Linked DNA regions of Homo sapiens: all the other regions are linked to region 3. Evidence: promoter capture Hi-C in 16 types of primary human blood cells and fetal thymus (Javierre and others, 2016). All regions are on one chromosome and are shown on one strand. Each heading gives the region's core, a stretch centred on a gene start or on the middle of the fragment in contact. The rest is flanking DNA. Distances are from core to core; before and after follow the strand shown. Region 1 overlaps RFFL (ring finger and FYVE like domain containing E3 ubiquitin protein ligase). Region 2 overlaps RFFL (ring finger and FYVE like domain containing E3 ubiquitin protein ligase). Region 3 holds the start of PEX12 (peroxisomal biogenesis factor 12). Region 4 overlaps RFFL (ring finger and FYVE like domain containing E3 ubiquitin protein ligase).

What was found. Contacts are between HindIII fragments. The CHiCAGO score rates a contact against its expected background, and 5 or more counts as called.
Region 1: a contact is called between a fragment that was not itself captured here and the fragment with the promoter of PEX12 in region 3, in 4 of 17 cell types (activated CD4 T cells, total CD4 T cells, total CD8 T cells and 1 more). The highest score is 7.2, in activated CD4 T cells.
Region 2: a fragment that was not itself captured here is called in contact with the fragment with the promoter of PEX12 in region 3 in 5 of 17 cell types (non-activated CD4 T cells, activated CD4 T cells, total CD8 T cells and 2 more); the score reaches 7.9 in non-activated CD4 T cells.
Region 4: a fragment that was not itself captured here is called in contact with the fragment with the promoter of PEX12 in region 3 in 1 of 17 cell types (total CD4 T cells); the score reaches 6.4 in total CD4 T cells.

The regions. Positions count from the first base shown.
Region 1 is chr17:35,014,655-35,017,501 of GRCh38, reverse strand. RFFL (ring finger and FYVE like domain containing E3 ubiquitin protein ligase) reads left to right here. Exons shown (of 7, transcript NM_001017368.2): 5 at 922-1,132; 6 at 2,739-2,762. It overlaps RAD51L3-RFFL (RAD51L3-RFFL readthrough), which reads left to right. Exons shown (of 7, transcript NR_037714.1): 6 at 922-1,132. Among named protein-coding and RNA genes, the nearest start is that of LIG3, 36 kb to the right of the region's middle. The HindIII fragment of the contact is 6,276 bases long and covers 1-2,847 here.
Region 2 is chr17:35,060,089-35,063,264 of GRCh38, reverse strand. All of the region lies in intron 1 of RFFL (ring finger and FYVE like domain containing E3 ubiquitin protein ligase), which reads left to right. The region is part of intron 5 of RAD51L3-RFFL (RAD51L3-RFFL readthrough); the gene reads left to right. Among named protein-coding and RNA genes, the nearest start is that of RFFL, 2.0 kb to the left of the region's middle. RefSeq lists an enhancer at 1-7. The HindIII fragment of the contact is 1,520 bases long and covers 609-2,128 here.
Region 3 is chr17:35,577,321-35,580,467 of GRCh38, reverse strand. It overlaps PEX12 (peroxisomal biogenesis factor 12), which reads left to right and starts at 1,897. Exons shown (of 3, transcript NM_000286.3): 1 at 1,897-2,572; 2 at 2,877-3,147. The coding sequence starts at 2,447. RefSeq lists an enhancer at 1,818-2,633. The HindIII fragment of the contact is 3,440 bases long and covers 650-3,147 here.
Region 4 is chr17:35,038,558-35,041,336 of GRCh38, reverse strand. The region is part of intron 1 of RFFL (ring finger and FYVE like domain containing E3 ubiquitin protein ligase); the gene reads left to right. The region is part of intron 5 of RAD51L3-RFFL (RAD51L3-RFFL readthrough); the gene reads left to right. Among named protein-coding and RNA genes, the nearest start is that of RFFL, 24 kb to the left of the region's middle. The HindIII fragment of the contact is 4,406 bases long and covers 1-2,779 here.

The sequences.
Region 1 (2,847 bases), core at 58-2,557, 560 kb after region 3:
GTGTCTTCACCTTTCCTCTTTCACTGGTGTTCTTCGGAACCTCTTAGCAGAGTCGAGTGGAGAGAGAATAAATGTGTGATGATAGTGCTTCCGAAATTATATTTTTGGGGTAGGGTTTAGTGTTAGTGTTCCAGGTTAACTAGTGAAGCGGTCAGTGTATTTATAAGGAGTTGTGAGGTCACAGTGGAGACGGAGAAGCCTCATGGCCCATTGTATTTCCAGTCTCTTGACTTTCTAAGAGCTGCCGGAGGGCAGGCTTGTGGTCCTGCTGTTAAAGTCTTGTTCTTTCCTTGCTTCTAGCACACTGTAGCCATTGTCAAGGGAAGGAGGTCAGACAATTAGCCAGGCAGGGCCAGTCCAGAGCACAGACCAGGGAGCTGTGGCCAAGGTTGTGTATAGAGGAGTACTTGCCAGGGAAATGTGCCTCTTGTGGGCAAGCAGAAGTCTCCAGGGGAGAAGGGCCAGCACCATGCTGGGTTTCATGTGCGGCCATATTTAACCTCTACAGGACCCCTGTGGGGTAGGACTGCTCTCTCCCCTTAATGGAGGGGCAAACGGGCTCAGAGTGGTAAGCAACTTGCTGGATATTATTTAGCATTAACAGCAGAGGAGTCAAGATTCAAAATTAGGGTCATATGACTCAAACCAGCACTCCTTCTACTATACTTCTATCTAGTACTATATCACACTGATTGGTTGGTCTGTGTCTGTTTGCTCCTGAGCACAGAATCGTGGGTCAGGAAGAGATTCTAGTATATTTTGCAATGCAGAGCACCATGCCAGGTACTCATCCTGTCTCTGTTCCTACCCTTCATGAGGTCAGTCACCAAAATTATGATGTGGTGACTGCTTTGGGGTCCTTGGAGAAAGAGCTTGGGGAGGTAAGAGCTGAGCACACTGATCTCATCTTTGTCATTGCAGTCTATTGACTCAGAGGACAGCTTTGTCCCAGGCCGAAGGGCCTCTCTGTCTGACCTGACTGACCTGGAGGACATTGAAGGCCTGACAGTGCGGCAGCTGAAAGAGATCTTGGCTCGCAACTTTGTCAACTACAAGGGCTGCTGTGAGAAGTGGGAGCTGATGGAGAGAGTGACCCGGCTATACAAGGATCAGAAAGGACTCCAGCACCTGGGTGAGGGGCTATCTGCATGGTAGCTTTACAGAGCTCAGGAGTGTTTGCTGTCACTCCAAAGCATGATGGTATTGACCTGACTCAATTTCCACACTTAAGCCATGGAAGGAGACACCTTACATATTTGCACCGTCTAATAATAGCTGTCATTTGTGGTTGAGTGTCAAAACTAGATTAGGCATTGCATGTATGTATTTATTCCTTAGAGCAACCTATGAAATAGACATTATTAGCATCACCCCTTTATCTGAAAGGTAAAATTTAACTGAAAATTTTATGGTCTAAGTCCATAGCCTTTCTCACCATATGCTATCCCCTCCCTACTCACCACCACCTTGTAAGTTTTCTTACCTTAGAATAAGAATGCTTGTTCTGAAGATTTGGGAGGTAGAAAGTGAATCTACATACATGGCAGGAGAAGATAGCTGTTCCATCTGCACTTGGGCTCTTCCTTTTGTTCATTTCCCAGAGCATTTTACACTGTATCATTCAGGAGATGCCCAGGAAAATATCTGGGTCTGTGGTTAAATGAGTTTAGGGAAAAATACCTCATATCTTCATTACTGATTTATGGTAGATTTTTATATTAAAGGCAGAGAAGTCCTGCAGAAGAGAAATGTGTTTTGGCTGTTTTGAACTTAGCATTTCCTGAAATTATTTCACCACAGAATCTTCTCCTTTCCTCCCATCCCCAGTTGATTTGGTTCCTACAGAGCAACATACTGATTCCTTGCTTGGTAAGAGTGGTTGAAGTCAGGTTTCAGGCTCTCTTCTACCAGTAGCTCAAATTCATCAGTGTTAGGGGTCATCTGACTGACTCTTCACCCGATTACAGACTGAGGCCTACTGACATGGAGTCTGTTTTCCCTTTGGGATTGTTTCAAGAGTCTTCTCTCCAGTCGTCAGGACCTGGGGAACAGAACAGATGACTCCACGTGGGAACTTTATCCAGATTCTCTGACTGACTGAAACAGCTAGATAGTTCATTCTTTCTTGACTTTAATGCTGACTTCAAAATAGAAAAGGATATTGCACATATACAGTATCCTTCTACTTGGCAGTTTGTGCAAACTGGTGGAATACCTTTTCCTAAGAGTAGACCAGGCTGGGTGTGTTGGCTTATGCCTGTAATCCCAGCACTCTGGGAGGCTGAGGCAGGTGGATCACTTGAGATCAGGAGTTCAAGACCAGCATAGGCAACATGGTGAAACACCATCTCCACCAAAAACAAAAAATTAGCCGGGAGTGGTGGCATGTGCCTGTAGTCCCCAGGTACTCAGGAGGCCGAGGCAGGAGAATCGCTTGAACCCATGAGAAAGAGGTTGCAGTGAGCCAAGATCATGCCACTGCACTCCAGCCTGGGCAAGAGAGTGAGGCTCCATCTCAAAAAAATAAAAAATAAAAGTAGACCAGATGCACGAGTAGGAGCTTTGTGTGAGTTCTGAGCATGTAGAGCGAGTAGAGGGCAGATGTCCATCTAGGCTCTTGGCAAGCCTGGTTCCCAGCAGGGAGTGGTAAGAGTTCAGAAATGATGTCAGGGCAGTAAGAGACTGTATTTGTACCATCATGCCTTACCTATTCAGACATCCTTCTCTTTCCTTTTCAGTCAGTGGTGCCGAAGACCAAAACGGTATGTAGTTGTTTCTGTTTGGGAATGGGCTTAGGCCCTTTTGTCCTTCCCCTCCTTCAACCCCAATCCCTTTAGTAATCTAAGA
Region 2 (3,176 bases), core at 119-2,618, 520 kb after region 3:
AGTCTGGTTTCGAACTCCCAAGCTCAGGTGATCCACCCTCCTCAGCCTCCCAAAGTGCTGGAATTATAGGCATGAGCCACGGCCCCCGGCCAGAAGTTTTCTTTCATTTGAGTTCTGGATGTGGAGTTAGGTCCAATTAAATCACTGATTATATAAATCTTAGAAAAGTAAAACGTTAGGTTTACAGCTTTATCCGTCATTTGCTCTTGTATTTTGTTTTTTTGTGTGTATCTTGTGAGAAACACTTTAGTCAAACTAAGCCATTGTTAAAGGAAAAGAAGTGAAGGCATTTGGTTGCCTTCCTAATAACTAAATATTGAGTTGTGGAGAACACTGTCTTATCAGTGAGTTTGTTCCCATATTCCTTTCTGAATTAATAGGAAGAACCTCCCTCATCTCTAATTCTACTAGGCTACTACTCTATCTCCCTCCTGCTTTTCATCGCCAAACTTTTGAGTCCTTCACCTAATCAGACTATGATATCTCTAGGTAGTCGTCACCCTCCAAATTACGTTTCTGCTCCTTATAATTCCAACAAATTGCCCACGTTCTCTTTCACCTCAGACCTTAGCATATGTAAGCGTTCTTTTACACACCTTCCCCAAGCTTAATCTGGCCAACTGGTTTCAGCCTAGAAGTCACCTCTTCCATGAAGCCTCTTCTTACTTACCAGGGTTGAGTACTCAGGAGAACCTGGTATTTACTCCAATCATAGTATGTATTGAGAATCAGGGTCTGCTTTGCTAGAATTGTATCCATGGTACGTTGCACATAGTAGGTTCTCAGTAAGGGTAGAATGAGCAAGAGCCTGTACTGTACTTTCTCAACTCTGATCCTCTCATCAACTCTTTTTTTTTTCTTCTGAGAGGAATCTTGCTCTGTCACCCAGGCTGCAGTGCAGTGGTGTGATCTTAGCTCACTGCAACCTCTGCCTTCCTGGTTCAAGCGATTCTCCTGCCTTAGCCTCCTGAGTTGCTGGGACTACAGGTACGTGCCACCACGCCCAGCTAATTTTTGTATTTTTAGTAGAGACAGTGTTTCACCATGTTGGCGAGGATGGTCTCGATCTCTTGACCTCATGGTCCACCTGCCTTGGCCTCCCAAAGTGCTGGGTTTACAGGTGTGAGCCACCGCGCCCGGCCTTGTTCATTCTTTTTATGCTCACATCTTTAAATGTGCTAAACCCTGTTGATTTTGTTGGAGTACTGTTTGATGTGTGGCTTTTCTTCATTCCCACTGTCATTGCCTTAATTTACCAGAGGTCAAAACTGGACGTTTAAAGTCAGGCTGGGCACGGTGGCTCACGCCTGTAATCCCAGCACTTTGGGAGGCCGAGGTGGGCAGATCACCTGAGGTCAGGAGTTTGAGACCAGCCTGGCTAACATGGTGAAACCCCATCTCTACTAAAAACAAAAAATTAGCTGGGCGTGGTGGCACGTGCCTATAATCCCAGTTACTCAGGATGCTGAAGCAGGAGAATCACTTGAACCCAGGAGGTGGAGGTTGCAGTGAGCGAGGATCACACCACTGCACTCCAGCCTGAGCAACAGTGAGACTCCATATCAAAAAAAAAAAAGAGTTTGAGACCATCCTGGCCAACATGGTGAAACCCTGTCTGTATTTAAAAAAAAAAAAAAAGGCACGCCACGCATGGTGGCCAGTGCCTGTGGTACCAGCTACCCAGCAGGCTGAGAAAAGAGAATTGCTTGCACCCAGGAGGTGGAGGTTTCAATGAGCTGAGATTGTGCCACTGAACTCCAGCCTAGGCACAGAAGAAGACTCCATCCCAAAAATCAATCAGTCAGCCTAAGGGCTTAAAATTTTGTGTGTGAATACTTTTAGGCACCATCAGAGAGAAGGCCTGTACTCTTCAAAGATTACGGATACCACCATTTTCTGACATCTTACACACTGAAGACTTAGCATTTTACCTGCATTGCCTCTAGGAATTTGAGTTTGTAACTCCTAGTTCAGACCCTTATCAAATGGCCACTCCTCCATAAGTCTTTCCTTGCTCCTATCTTCTCCATATTGTTGCCCAAGTTATCTTTTTAAAGTCCACATCTAATCTTTTCATTTAAGGTGCCATTTGTTCCCTGTTTTCCACTTAGCTTGACTTCTAAAAGCTTTCACAGTTGGATTCTTTCCTACATGTTGCTGTTAACCATCTCATCTCCCTCTCCCCTGGCCATTTCTCTCCTCTCCAGCTTCACTGAACTTCTCATGTTAACATTCCATGGATATACCATGTCTTTTAGGACTCTGCCTTTTCCCAATGGACTCTCCCTTCTCTAACTGGCAAGATACTCATCCCTCAGGACACTTAGTTCATATATGCATCTTCTCTGACTTCTCTGTCTTTTCTGACAGACAGCACTGTCTGTCTCTTCCACTAGACTGTTGAGTTCTTTGACTGAACTTGGTGTCCCTGGACTAGAGCTTGGCACCATCAGAGAGAGTGGCTGACGTGGATCTCCGGGCTCAAACCGTTATTCTTTGCAATATTAGAAGCTTTTTTGTTAGATGGCATGGTTTTTCATTCCTATTTGATGAACATGAGCCCATGGCTGCTTATTTTGTATGTGTTACCTGCCACCATCAAGTAATCATTCAAAGTTAATTTGAAGATTTAAAGGGTTTGCTGAGATCTAGTCCCGCAATATCACGACATTTTTATGGTGTTTTACAAAATTATTTCCCTCATATGGTTTTATTTGCGTTGGGTAGGCTTTATTTATTATCCCTATTTTACCAGTGATTATAAAGCTAGTCTGATACCAAAGCATATATACATTTAGGTAAGACTCAGAGAGAAAACATGGTTCTTACACTGCATTAAGCAGCTGGTTTGTCTCTTAATATAGTAGTTAAATATACTCTATCAGGTTCCACAGAAATGGTGCCTTTGCTCGATAGGCAAGTGCTAACGGTCTTGCCTTTTACAAGGCCACTTTATCATCAAGGTAGGAGGAGGAGGTACTCTGAACCTGCCTGACCTATGGGAAGGCCCTGGTTGTGGTTAGAGACCTTGATTGAAATTAATGGTGTGCGTACTCCAACCTCTCAGGTTTTTCTTTTATACTTCAAATATCTGGAAGTTGTGAAAACCTGCTGCCCTGGTGGAGTATCAAACCAGGCTGGTGAGTGAAAGCGGTCATCCCAAAATGGAGTAAGCT
Region 3 (3,147 bases), core at 648-3,147:
GCTTCCAGGGTTCAAGCGATTCTCCTGCCTCAGCCTCCCGAGTAGCTGGGATTACAGGTATGTGCCACCACACCCAGCTAATTTTTTGTATTTCTAGTACAGACTGGGTTTCTCCATGTTGGTCAGGCTGGTCATGACCTCTTGACCTCAGGTGATCCACCCGCCTCGGCCTCCCAAAGTGCTGGGATTATAGGCGTTCTTATGCCATACGTTTAGTTAACTTTTGGAGTACTTCCATGGGACTATCAATCAAGACATCCTGCCTTCCCCTGGCTAAGAGTGAAAGACAGGGTGGAGAGGGAACTTGAACCAAGAGAGGTCAGTCAAAATTTGTATCACGAGCAGAGTCACAAACAGAAATTGGTGGAAGCTCGTTCACTGCAACAACGTTGCCTGGATAAGAACTTCTAATTCCTGTTAGGCAGTCCCAATAGTATTGTTAAGTTCCTGTTCTTTCAGGGCTGGCTTTACTTATTTTGTGAGCTACTCCATACACTTCTAATAAATTCCGTTTTAGTTTAAATTAGCCTGTTTGTTTCTGTTGCTTGTAACCAAAGATCCCTAAGTGACAAAAATGTTTAATTTCCTGCTTGATTTAGTTGATGCTACCTCTCAACTTTGTATTTTTGCTATTCACTTAAGAAAAGCTTGTACATAACAGTTACTATTAAACAAGCACCTAATATGTATCCAGGTGCTTCATATGGATAAACTATGTCTAGTCTTAAAACTCTGTAAGGTAAAAATCATATATCAATATAATGTCTTTTGGTAGAGTAAAAAACACTTTTTATAACTATAATTAAGGACAATTTGTAAGGTTTTCTCTCCTATTGGAATAACTAAATCCAAACCTTGTTTTTGAGGGTTCTCATTATGCAAACCAATTATTTTTATAACATAAGGGCCTCTAGGGCAGTAAACAATACCTTCTATTCCCAGCTATTTAGCCCAGAGGTGGCACTTCCCAGAGGAAGGGAGGAGAGGTGGAACTCTCATCCAAATTCAATAAGGCTGTGTCAGCCAACTTCAGCGAGACAAAGCTGTACATAACATAAAAGCACTTTACAAACCTTAAGGTAAATCACATTCATTTTGGTATAAAAACGGCATGAAAGGAAACTTTCTGTCAAGTGTCCCCAGTGCATGCTAGTTACAATTCATAAAGCTCCCTCTGCGTTAGTACTGTATTCATATCGCTGGTGGTGACATATACAACTGTGTTCAAGGATGGAGACCATTTTCATCCAGTATAGCAAGTGCATGCAGTTATGCTTGAATATAGCCAAAACCTGGAAGACGTTAAACTACCAGCTTGGATGAAAATTAACCGTCTCAAGTACTGAGGAACAAGCATGAACCTTTCTCAATCCAATCATCTTTCCTTATAATTGGCGGCAATAAATCTAAGGCTCCTATCTCCTGCTATGTCGCTTTAAATCATTTCTGGAAGGCTAAGACATATAAATTAACCACCATCCCTGCCGCACGCGTACAGCAAAGTCCTTTCCACCTCCAGATTCCCTTCCTCCCACCGCCCCTAGCTTCATCGCCTGCAGGAACACAGGGCTCAGCAACGGGCCCGAGCTCTGGCTCCCGGCGCCAGACGTCTGCGCGGTGCCCCAAACAGCTTGTCAAAAAGACCTCGCAGAGAGAGGTTCAGAGCTGTAGCTTTCCAGCGAGGCTACCATGCAGACCCAGCTACGAAAAGTAAACCAAACTAGCCAAAACCAGCCCACAAGGGCCCTCTTCTGTTTCAGCGGGGCGGGAGCGGAAGCTCAGGTGGGTCATAGAGTTCTCTAGTTCTGGTTTCCGGACCGCATTCGGAACTAGAGCGCCTCTCTTCCGCCAGGCATCCCAGAGGTCCTGGTGGTTTCATTTCCGGGTGCGGCTTCTGTCATAAAGCGGAGACCTCCCTTCAAACGTGGCGTCGTGGGTTGTTTGCGCCTCGCCTGGGGTCAGCGAGCAAGGACGGGCGCGGGCGGGGATACTCAAAGCCAACAGCTGGAGTCAGCCCTTGTGTCCCGGGCTCACAGTGGCACGACTGAATCCTCAGAGTCGGCTGGCTTTTGAGCTCTCACGATTGGGGAGGAGGGGGCGTTTCTGGTTCGCAGCTCCAGAGGATTGCGTTCCTTCCCCCATACCTGTCCCCCACAGTCACGCTCTGCCCTGACGTGCAGCATTTGACAAGTTACCCCCTCGCCACATACTACTTCCACCCACGTCCGAGTTAACTTTGTTCTTAACCTTCTTGAGACTACCCTCGGCCTCCAGGTCTTTTTTTCCCAGTTCATTTTTGCCCATAAGATTGAGTTTCGAGTTTCAGATATCATGCAGAAAGTTTACCTTTAAGACTGAGCACCCATCTGATACTCTTCCTCCCGAAAAAGTTCATGCTCACGAGAGAGTTTGTGGGAAAAGTGAAAGCCAGTACACGCAGGAAACTATGGCTGAGCACGGGGCTCACTTCACAGCTGCTTCTGTGGCCGATGACCAGCCATCCATCTTTGAGGTGGTAGCACAGGACAGTTTAATGACAGCAGTGAGACCCGCTCTTCAGCATGTGGTCAAGGTAAGGTATTAATTCTTGGAAAGGTTTTAGGGACAACTGGGTAAAAAACAAACGAATAATTTGTGCTTATTTGGTAGCCTAGCGTTTGAAATAGCCAATTTGCAAATAACTTGTATCCCATGACTTAAGAGTTACTGAGTCTCTGTTATGTGTAGAGACCTGTACTGAATACCCAGCATTTCAGGGTCCAACAGTGACTTATTTAAAACAAATTGTGTAGACTTTAGAGGAAAAGGGGGAATGTAAATAGGTGTAGAACTTGTGTAATGGAATGAATTTCACTTATTGCTTTATTTTGCTTTAGGTTCTTGCAGAATCAAATCCCACCCACTATGGCTTCTTGTGGAGGTGGTTTGATGAAATCTTTACTCTGCTAGATCTTCTGCTCCAGCAACATTATCTGTCTAGAACCAGTGCCTCATTTTCTGAAAACTTTTACGGCTTAAAGAGAATTGTAATGGGGGACACTCACAAGTCTCAGAGATTGGCTAGTGCTGGTCTCCCAAAGCAGCAGCTTTGGAAATCTATTATGTTCCTGGTTCTTCTTCCCTATCTGAAAGTGAAGCTGGAGAAGC
Region 4 (2,779 bases), core at 179-2,678, 540 kb after region 3:
TTCTAGGAACAAGCAACATTAAAGAGCTTTAAGTGTGTGTGTTGAGGGGAGGAGGGCAGTGGGTGATGCCTTGTGGAGAAATAGGTGGATAGAGGCAAGAATTAAAGCTAGGAAACCCGTTAGGAGGCTGTTCTTTTACCCAAGAAGCCATTCTAGACTCTGGAAATTCGGTAGAGCACAAAGTCCCTGCCCTCATGGGGTTTCTATTCTAGTTAGGGAAAGCAGTTAATAAATAAGCAAATAATATCAGCTAATACCAAATGTTATGGTGAAATTAGAAAATGACATTAAAAGGCTGGTCGTGGTAGCTCACACCTGTAATCCCAGAGCTTTGGGAGCCTGACGCAGGAGGATCCTTAGAGCCCAGGAGTTCGAGATTACAGTGAGCTATGATCAAGCCACTGCACTCCAGCTTGGAGAGAGACCCTATCTCTCTCTCCCTCACACACACACACACACACACACACACACCAAAAAAAAAAAAAAAAAAAAAAAGACATTAAAGCTGATGTTTGGATGACAAGAAGGAGCTAAGCATAGGAAGTTCTAGGGAGACCAATCCAGGCAGAAGGAACAAACAACAAATCTAAAGGGCCTAAGGAGGGAAATGTGATTAATATATGAAAGATGATGTTTTAACCCACCAGCAGGAGCAGGGGAGATGAAGGTAGGAATTTATGCATCTTTGATTTAAGAAAAGTATTTTTTATTTTTTTTTTACTTTTTTTTTTTTTGAGAGAGAGTCTCGCTCTGTCGCCCAGGTTGGAGTGCAGTGGCATGATCTCAGCTCACTGCAACCTCTGCCTTCCAGGTTCAAGTGATTCTCCTACCTCAGCCTCCCAAGTGGCTGGGACTATAGGTGCCTGCCACCATGCCTGGCTAATTTTTTATATTTTTAGTAGAGACGGGGTTTCACCATGTTGGCCAGGCTGGTCTTGAACTCCCGACCTCAAGTGATCTGCCCGCCTTGGCCTCCCAAAGTGCTGGGATTACAGGTGTGAGCCACCACACCCGGCCAAGAAAGGTATTTAAAGCAACCTGAGGTGTGGTTGGAGAGGGAGGCCTAAGACAGCCTGGACACTCACAACATTTAAGAACAGAGGGAGGGGTAAGAAGCAGCAAAAAGGCTTTGAGGTAGGAGGAAAGCCACGGGGGCAGAGTGCTAGAAGCTAAGAGATGTTTAGAGGGGGAGAGTCGCTTGTGTCCAGCATTGCTGAGAGATTAAGATGAGGATAGAGAAGTGTCAATTAGATCTGGCCACTTGGAATTCCTTGGTGACCTTGAAGAGATTAGGAATGGTGGTTGGCTCAAGCTAGATTGGAGAAGGTTTAAGAGTGAATTAGAGGTTAAGAAAGTGGAGTCGGCCAGATGCGGTGGCTCATGCCTGTAATCCCAGCACTTTGGGAGGCCGAGGTGGGCAGATCACCTGTGGTTGGGTGTTTGAGACCAGTCTGACCGACATGGAGAAGCCGTCTCTACTAAAAATACAAAATTAGCTGGGCATGGAGTTGTATGCCTGTAATCCCAGATACTCGGGAGGCTGAGGCAGGAGAATTGCTTGAACCCGGGAGGCAGAGGTTGCAGTGAACTGAGATCGTGCCATTGCACTCCAGCCTGGGCAACAAGAGTGAAATTCCGTTTCAAAAAAAAAAAGTGGAGTCAAATATTTGGAGAAATTTGATTTAGAGGAGATCACAGAAAAAGAGCTTTACTGGGGAGGGGGAGAATGTGGGGTCAAAATGGGGTTTTATTTTTTATTTTTTTGTTATTTTTTACAAATTACAAATATTTGACTAGGTGCTTTAAAAAATCTGTCATTGGCTGGGCGTTGTGGCTCATGCCTATAAGCCCAGCACTTTGGGAGGCCGAGGTGGGCGGATCATGACGTTAGGAGATCAAGACCATCCTGCCCAACATGGTGAAACGCCGTCTCTACTAAAAATACAAAAATTAGCTGGGTGTGATGGCACGTGCCTGTAATCCCAGCTACTCGGGAGGCTGAGGCGTGAGAATCGCTTGAACCCAGCAGGCGGAGGTTGCAGTGAGCCGAGGTTGCGCCACTGCACTCCAGCCTGGCGACAGAGCGAGACTGCGTCTCAAAAAAAAGAAAAGAAAAAAATCTGTCATATGGGCTGGGTGCAGGGGCCCATGTCTGTAATCCCAGCACTTTGGGAGGCTGAGGCGGGTGGATTGCTTGAGCCCAGGAGTTCGAGATCAGCCTGGGCAACTTGATGAAACCCCATCTAGACAAAAAAATACAAAAAATTAGGTGTGGTGGTGCGCGCCTGTAGTCCCAGCTACTCGGCATGCTGTGGCAGGAGGATCACGTAAGCCTGGGAGGTCCAGGTTACAGTGAGCCATGGTCGCAACACTGCACTCCAGCCTGAGCAACAGAGTGAGACACCCTATCTCAAAACAAAACACAACACTCATATAAACTTTTAATTCAAATGTAACTAGAGAAGTATATAAATTATAAGTGTACAGTTCGATGAATTTTTACAAAGTCAACATATCTACATAATCAGCATTCAGAGTAAGAAACAATGTTACCAGAAGCCCCTTGGGCTGCCTTCCATCTGTAATCCTACCTCACAGGATGACCACTATCCTGATTTTGAACACCATAGTTTGCCTGTTTTTGAATTTTATGTAAAACGAATCATTTCCCATGTATTCATTTATGCCTCCTGCTTTTGCTCAACATAAGATTCATCTGTACTATTGCATGTATCAGTTGTTTGTTTTTTCTCATTGTTCTGTGAACATATCATAATTC